Linked DNA regions of Homo sapiens: all the other regions are linked to region 3. Evidence: promoter capture Hi-C in human tissues and cell types (Jung and others, 2019). All regions are on one chromosome and are shown on one strand. The core of a region is centred on a gene start or on the middle of the fragment in contact, and the rest is flanking DNA. Distances in the headings are between cores, read along the strand shown. Region 1 overlaps LOC101928551 (a long non-coding RNA gene). Region 2 holds the start of LINC02268 (long intergenic non-protein coding RNA 2268). Region 3 holds the start of HPGD (15-hydroxyprostaglandin dehydrogenase).

Region 1 (2,700 bases), core at 171-2,670, 310 kb after region 3:
TTTAACGTATACATCTTAATGTGTTCGGAGATAAGAATACACCTTTGAAACCGTCAACACAATCAATGCTATAATCCTATCCATGACCTCCCAAAGTTTTCTCCCACTCTTTTGATTGTTTTGTTTTTTCTTTCTGTGGTAAGAGCATTTAACGTAAGATTTATCTTCTTAACAAATTTTAAAGTATACAATACAGCATTGTTAATCATAGGCCCTTTGCTGTGCAGGAGATATTCAAAAATTTTTTGTCTTGTATAACTGAAACTTTAGACCTTTTGTCCAATCCTTCCCCAGTTTACTCCTCCCCTATCCTCTGATAACCAACCCTTTACTCTGTTTCTGTGAGTTTGACTGTTTTAGACTCCACATATACGTGAGATCATATAGTATTTATCCTTCTGTTGACTGGCTTATTTCTCTTAACATAATGTCCTTCAGGTCCATTCATGATGTCACAAATGTTCAGGTTTTCTTCTTTTTTTAAGGCTAAATAACTTTCCTGCGTGTATATATATTACCATGAGTCATGGTGTCACAACTGATTTCTTTATCCATTCATCCACCAATGGACACAGAGGTTGTTTCCATATCTTGACTACTGTGAATAATGTTGCAGTGAACATGGAAGTGCAGATATCTCTTCAACAAACTAATTTCAATTCCTTTAGATATGCACTCAGAAGTAGGATTTCTGGATCAAATGGTAATTTTAGTTTTAATGTTTGAGTAATCTTCATCTTGTTTTCCATAGTGGCTTTACCAATTTACATTCCCATCAACAGTGTAAAGTGTTCTCTTTTCTCTACATCCTAGCCAACACATGCCCTTTGTTTTTTGATAATAGCCAACTTAACAAATATGAGCTGATATCTCATTGTGGTTTTAATTTGTATTTTCCTGATGACTGGTAAAAGCCATTTTTCATATACTTATTGGCTGTTTTATGTCTTCTTTTGAGAAATGTCTATTCAGTTCCCTTGTCCATTTTTTGTTTGGGTTGTTTTATTGCTATTGAGTTGTTTGAGTTTATTATACATTTTAGATATTAACCACTTTTCAGATACGTGGTCTGCAAATATTTACTCTCATTCTATAATTTACTTTTTCATTTTGCTAACTGCTTCCTTTGCTGTGCAGAAGCTTTTTCATTAGATGTAATCCCACTTGTTTATCCCTGCTTTTTTTTTCCTGTGCTTTAGTGTCATATCCAAGAAATCATTGCCCAGTCTAATTTGTAGAAGATTTTCTCCAATGTTTTCTTCCAGGACTTGTATTGTTTTATGTTTTACAGTTAAGCCTTTAATCCATATTGAGTTGATTTTTGCATATAGCGGGAGATCAAGTCCAATTTCATTTTTTTGTGTGTTGAATTTTGATTTTTCCAAAACCATTCATTGAACAGACTATCTTTCCCTCATTGTGTATTCTTGGCACCTTTGTGGAAGATCAGTTGACCTTATATGCATCGGTTTATTTATGGGCTCTCTGTTCTACTCAACTGGTCTGTATGTGTGTTTTTATGCCAGTGCCTTGTTTCAATAACTAGTTTTGTAATACATGTTCAAATCAGGGAGTGTGATACCGTCAGCTTTGTTCTTCTTGCTCAAAATTGCTTAGACTTTTTTTTTCTTTACTGGTTTCCCTTTTCCCCACTATGTATCAGTCACATGAGCTGTTTCTTTTCTCAGAATTTGTCTACTTTAAACACCTGTCCTCTTGGGCTTTCTATCTTTGGTTACCTTTCAGCCTTTAACTCACAGTACGGCTATCAGTTTCTTTCTTGAGCACAATATATAACAAAATTTCCCCTTTACTTTTAATTCATGGTGTTTTTTTCTTCACAGATGAAATATAATTTGATGTTTGCCCTTGTTTGAATACTCCATGAAGATGAGGAAAATACATGTTTGTGTCTAACAGTGTCTGGCATGTGGTAAGTGGTCGGTAAATATACTTTAAATCAATGATTGAGTGCATAAATATTCTTTGTTCTTTGGTTAACCCTTTTTTAAATTCCATGCTTACTAAGCTTTTTAACCCATTCTCTCTTCATAAAATTATTTAAGATCTCTAGGTTGTAGTGTGTTTTCTTTGGCGATCGAAAAGCAACTTTGGAGTTTTTATGTGTGCCCTCAGTTCACTCTAAGAGCACTTTATTTATTTATTTATTTTTGATACAGAGTATTACTGTGTTGCCCAGGCTGGAGTGCAGTGGTGCGATCTCAGCTCACTGAGACATGTGCCTCCCAGGTTCAGATGATTCTCCTGCCTCAGGAGAGTGCCTTGTTTATGAAAAATAAGTTAATATTATCCATTATACTAGAATTTTTACAATTGTAACATGTTAAAAAATATTCAAGACACTCTTTAGAGACAATATGGAAGAGCTTATTCAAGGGAGAATATTGCAATAGGTATAGGGATTGTTGCAATGGGTCTTATAGTGTGGTAGAGACATTGGTCTTGACTCTGATTACAAGAGGAACAAGTGCGAATCTATGGTCAAGGAGTAGGGGCTGGTGAATGAAAAGTTACTAAGAGAAAACATCAGGGATAAGGGGATTCTTCTTACACTGACTTGACAGGATTTTTATTGAAGGTAAACCAGCATGACAAGATATTGAGGGTAAGGAATAAGGAATTTGATCAGATATCAAGGGTGTTTATGTAAGGGCAGGGGATTTTCACTAGACTAGCCCA
Region 2 (2,700 bases), core at 62-2,561, 300 kb before region 3:
ACTCTTCGGATAAAACAATTTTTTCTCCTTCATTCCCAGGCATGGTTTGGAAAGCAATAAATGCATATTTGCAAGAAGTCATGAAAAATCAAGATTAAAAATACTGTATAATCTTCCTGGTAAAACATATATACATTTTATATCTGACCATATGAAACTGTCATCTATAAGTATTACATTTTAATGAAGCATAACTCCTCATGATATATTTATTTCATAACAAATGGCAAAGGTAATATTACTTATCTTCAAGTATTTTTTCTTTTAAAAGCTCCTCCCACCAAATGAGAGACCTCTATTTAAACAGCAACTTCTATTGAAATATATGATCTGAAGGAATTCGCTATTTGAAAGTCTTTTGACAGCTTTACAGATTATATCTGTTGAGTTTTTTCTCTCTCTCTTATTTCCACAATTTACATGTGTGAATATATGGGTAACCCTCACTAACTTTTCAACATCAGTCACGCACATTAGGTAGAAAAAATTAATTTTGAAACTATTCTTTGTTTTTAAAATGATATATGTCATTACTGTTAGGTGAGTAAGCTAAGTGTGTTTTTTTGGAAGGGGAAGGTAGGTTAATCACAATGATAGAGCAAATATAAATAGTATTATGTTGTTGGTGTTAAAAGGCAAAACCTCTTAGTCTGTGAAGATCACCTACTTACCTTCTCTCCATTAAAAAAAGAGTTGAACTTTTTGGCTCCCTGTATAATGTGTGTTCTCCATAGATTTTATACTAAATATTAATATTAAGATTATAGAGCTAACCTTTTTCTAATGTCAAAGAGCTTTTGAACAATACAGGCACAAGAGAGAAAAGACACCTACCTCATACATTCACATCCCAAATTTCCTATCTCCAATGCAACAGGAATAATCTTTTTATTCCATTAAAATGGTCACTAACCTTATAATAATAAAGGCATGTTTTAATCTCTTACCTGAAGGAGTCTTATCAATGTAACAAGAACTGAAATTGTGACTGGTCCTTGTTGTCGTTTACAGTACAGAGATCTGTACTGTATTGCCTTTGTGGAGGGCTGAAGTAACAACATATGACTACTGCCTCCTGAGACCCTTATGAAAATAAGATATATAGCTGGTTCAAATAAATGTTTTAGGCCTTGACCCAGGAATATAATTGAGAAAAACAAATTATTTCACATACACTAAAACATAATTAAAATGTTATTCTAAGCTTTGCTTTTGTGTGTTATGTTGTATGTGCATACTAATGTTATCCTCAATCATAAAGCTATGTAAGAAATGATTGTACTTTTAAAAATGTTACGTAAACATCTTTTTTCCTAAAAGTGGCAAAAATTACCTTAGAAAGCAGTTACAGTGCAACTTTCACTTTTAAAGGTTTTCAAGATTGAATATTTTAATTCATAACATATTTCTCATTGTTAAAATTCTTTGGCTTCCTCATATCTGGCATTTAAAATTTTTCAGTTGTTTTGTAGACTATGTATGTAAGGTTGCATTTTTCACTGTCAACATAAAGTTATTGTTTGCTTTGGATTTAATATGTATTTGGATATGTATGCATATTTGTTTAAAACTATGAACTCTGGGGAGGGTTTTAATTCTATGCAACATAAGTCAGTTTTATATAATGAATATATACAACTTCAGCTAATAAAAAGTAAGATTTTAATCTTGACAATATATTCCTAAAATGCATTAAGATATTGTCAATCTAAAATGAGCTTGATTTGAGAACAAAAAGAATAAGTTCTTTTAATGAACTAGTGGTATATTGTTATATGTATATATGTTTTGCTGATTTTAGCAAGAAAATGGAAAATAATCCATAAGAAAATGGAAAATAATCCTCCTGCAAAAGAAACCTGAAGTGGATTACCTAATAAATTGTTTTCAGCCTGAATTTTAAGGTATCACGACATAGTCATGTTTGTTTTTTAAAATATCATTTTCAAAAATCAAAGACATTAATGGTATTCTCTATTTCAAAACTATGATCATTATTCTGCTTTTTGCCACCAATATTTATGCTAGGAGAAACATGTTTAAGAGTCATCAACACCTTGGGCTCATTGACCATACGAATGAGTCACATGGTCAAAATGAATAAAATGTTATTTAGAAAAAGGAAAAATATATATATATATTTATACATATGCATAGGTATTCTTTTTAAATGAATAAAAGGGCTTCATAATTTGGGACAGCAGAAAAAGGGAGTAGCAAGCATCACAGCCCAAAGCAAGAATGAAAGTAGCAATGGTGTCTAGACAAAGGAGCAAGGATATTTGCTTTTACAGTTAGTTTTATTTGGGATATCTTGGAAGAAAGAAGGGTAGGCTCTCAATGGCTAAATTAAATTATCTGGATGATTTGTCTACACAGAGCAATAATGACATCTCTTTTTGTTGTTGTTTGCTTTTGTTTTGTTTTTTGTTTGTTTGTTTGGAGACAGAGTCTCACTCTGTTGACCAGACTGGAGTTGCCCGGGCTGGAGTGCAGTGGCATGATCTCGGCTCACTGCAGCCTCCACTTCACGGATTCAAGAGATTCTCCTGCCTCAGCCTTCTGAGTAGCTGGGATTAAAGGTGCCCACCACCACACCAGCTAATTTTGGTGTTTCTAGTAGAGACAGGGGTTTCACCATTTTGGCCAGGCTGGTCTTGAACTCCTGACTTCAAGTGATCCGCCTGCCTTGGCCTCCCA
Region 3 (2,500 bases), core at 1-2,500:
AACAGCTTTATAATCAAAGCTGTTTATTGTGTATGCCAATATTGTCCCTGATACTTCACAAGTAGATTGGTCTATTTTAAGTGAGTAGCCGGAAACAGGAAAGCATTGAGGAAAGGCTGATAGAGATGTTTCTACTACAATTCTAACATTGTATACTTTATTATGATTACTATTATTATTATTTTAAAGTACTGTCTCATTGGGGAAAAAGCCGGAGAAAACATATGGTCAAAAGCATCTAGCACTTCTGTGATGATGCTCCTTGAACTTGTATTCTGATATGTTTAAACGAAAAACACTGCCACATTTGATTGTCATTGGACTCCAGCTTTCTGGGAGAAGTTGTTTGTCAACAGTACCTTACTTAACCTACTTTAATTTTCCAAGTTTTGTCTGCAATTTCAATCATTTAATAATTACTGCAGCAGCACTGTCTTTGAATACATAAAGGAATTTTGATTACATTAATGCTGCCAAATGACTACAATAAAAGGATTTCTCCAGCAGTCTTGCCTTTCTTTCGGTTTTACAGCTATTGGGCTGTCAGAAGGAAACGTATCAGTCCAAACTGTCTTTTGGAGCTTCAAGGTAGCTGCTCTCGAGGAGGCAGCGGAGGCGGCACCCAGGGCCCCCTGGCCGGGCTGCCTTCAGGTTGTTGCTTGTTGAGAGCACGTTCCCAGTTGACAGATTGATTCCCCTGTCTTACCTCTCAGTTGTTGCTGGTCAGCCACATCGCACTGGATGAACAGAGTCTTCTGAGGTTCAAACTGCTCATCCAGGGCAGCTTTACACTGTACACCTGCTTCAAGATTCCAATCCACCAGCGCTACCTATAGACAAGAGGAGAGGAATCGCGGGCCTGCGCAGCTCACGAAATAGACGGACAAACAATAAACACACAAGAGGCTCCCCTCCTGGACCTGAAATTTGGCAATTAGGTTTGGGTTCCCTCCCAGCCACTTCTGAGGTGTGCTCACAGCCTCAGCTTCAGCAAATTTTGGAAGTGGCAAAGTGGGCACGCCGGGCGCGGCCTCCCTGTCTCCGCCAGTGCACCTCGGGCGGCGGGGCGAGTCTCGGAGTGTGTGGGCAGAGAAATTTCCGCGGCTGGGCGCCGGGCTTACCTTGGCGCCCTTAAGCAGCAGCGCCTCTGCAAAGGCTCTGCCTATGCCCTGAGCCGCGCCGGTCACCAGCGCCACTTTGCCGTTCACGTGCATGGTGCAGCCACTGCTGGGGCGGGCGGTGGGCGAGCTCCGCGTCTCCGCGCGGCCGCGGCTTTTATGCCCCCCTGCGCGCGCGCGCGTGCAGCCCGGCGGGGCGCTCCCCTGCCAGTGGGCGGGGAGGAAACTGTCAAGCCAGCGCCCGCCGGGGAACCCACGACTGTGTCACCTGCCCCCTGAGCGTTCTGGAGCGCCAAGCTTCGCGATCTTTGCCTTCCGGACTCGCAGACCGGCTCAAAGCCTCCCCTCAGCCTCTGGCTCCGTGATTGGCAGGCAGCTGACAGAAGAAAAGTTAAAAGGTTATTTCTGAAGAAGAGTTTCCTTCAGTGCCCTAAAGACCAACTGGATAGAAGGAGAGCGGAGCAGAGGCTTGGAAGCTTGGATCCCTCCTCCTGCACTCCCTCCCGGCCCCGACTCCGGAACAAAACAAGCAAACAATAAAGCAAACTTGTTGCTCTTTTGTCTCAAAGTTTTGTGTGAGTTCCCATCTCGTAATCAGTGGGGTTGAGGGTGACGGGGAGCAGAAGTAACTAATATCATTGTGTTTTCTTAGTTACATTTTGGACAAATTTTTACGGATACTGGAGATGAGAAGTGGACTCTGCTCTGTCCTGAAAACCTGGAATCATAACATTTCATGGCTAGGACTAGAGTGTCCTTGGCGCTGTGTTTCTGGTCAGTGTCAATTGTGTGTCATATTGAGATGCCCCCACAAAAACTGTCATCATCAACAGGCGCTCCAGAGCCGCTGGTAGCCTACCAAATTGTTGGCTCAATGGAATGCTTACTTGTTGAAATACACCAACTTTGGAAGCTCTGAGTCAAGTTTGGGACAGAGGTTCCTTGCTCTCCAGGAACTCCAGGGCTAGCTGTATGCGGACTTGCATAAATAACAAGGGCTATTCCACTGACTTTGTCTCTTTTTCTCAGGTTGTCAGCGGCAGGCTGCAATTTTAATTCTGTAAACGTAAGTGGTTGGCTTTTTTTTTTTTTTTTTTTTTTTAATCTTGAGACAAGATCTCGCTCTGTCTGTTTGGCTAGAATGCAGTGGCATAATCCCAGCTCGCTGCAACCTCAATCTCCAGGGCTCAAGCGACCCTCCCACCTTGGACTCCCAAAGAGTGCTAAGATTACAGGCATGAGCCACTATGCCCAGCTGGCATTTATTTTCTTAAAGAAAAAAAAAATCTAAATACTTGGGGGAAATGGGAGTTGAGCAAAAGACTGACACTAACAGCAGAATGAATCATTTTTATATCTTCTTTACCTTCTTTACTGGGAAA

The links. The method cuts DNA at HindIII sites, captures the fragments that hold promoters and counts their contacts. A contact is called where the count stands out against the background at its distance.
Region 1: a contact is called between a fragment that was not itself captured here and the fragment with the promoter of HPGD in region 3, in 1 of the 25 tissues and cell types used here (H1 embryonic stem cells).
Region 2: a fragment that was not itself captured here is called in contact with the fragment with the promoter of HPGD in region 3 in 1 of the 25 tissues and cell types used here (hippocampus).

Annotation. Positions count from the first base shown.
Region 1 is chr4:174,833,005-174,835,704 of GRCh38, forward strand. It overlaps LOC101928551 (a long non-coding RNA gene), which reads left to right. Exons shown (of 5, transcript NR_125900.1): 2 at 1,845-1,933. Among named protein-coding and RNA genes, the nearest start is that of GLRA3, 5.1 kb to the left of the region's middle. The HindIII fragment of the contact is 4,065 bases long and covers 1-2,700 here.
Region 2 is chr4:174,219,367-174,222,066 of GRCh38, forward strand. It overlaps LINC02268 (long intergenic non-protein coding RNA 2268), which reads right to left and starts at 1,032. Exons shown (of 5, transcript NR_125896.1): 1 at 948-1,032. The HindIII fragment of the contact is 5,450 bases long and covers 1-2,700 here.
Region 3 is chr4:174,521,238-174,523,737 of GRCh38, forward strand. HPGD (15-hydroxyprostaglandin dehydrogenase) reads right to left here and starts at 1,251. Exons shown (of 7, transcript NM_000860.6): 1 at 1,122-1,251; 2 at 707-830. The coding sequence starts at 1,214. It overlaps LOC105377548 (a long non-coding RNA gene), which reads left to right and starts at 1,376. Exons shown (of 7, transcript XR_007058492.1): 1 at 1,376-1,892; 2 at 2,148-2,184. The HindIII fragment of the contact is 5,489 bases long and covers 1-2,500 here.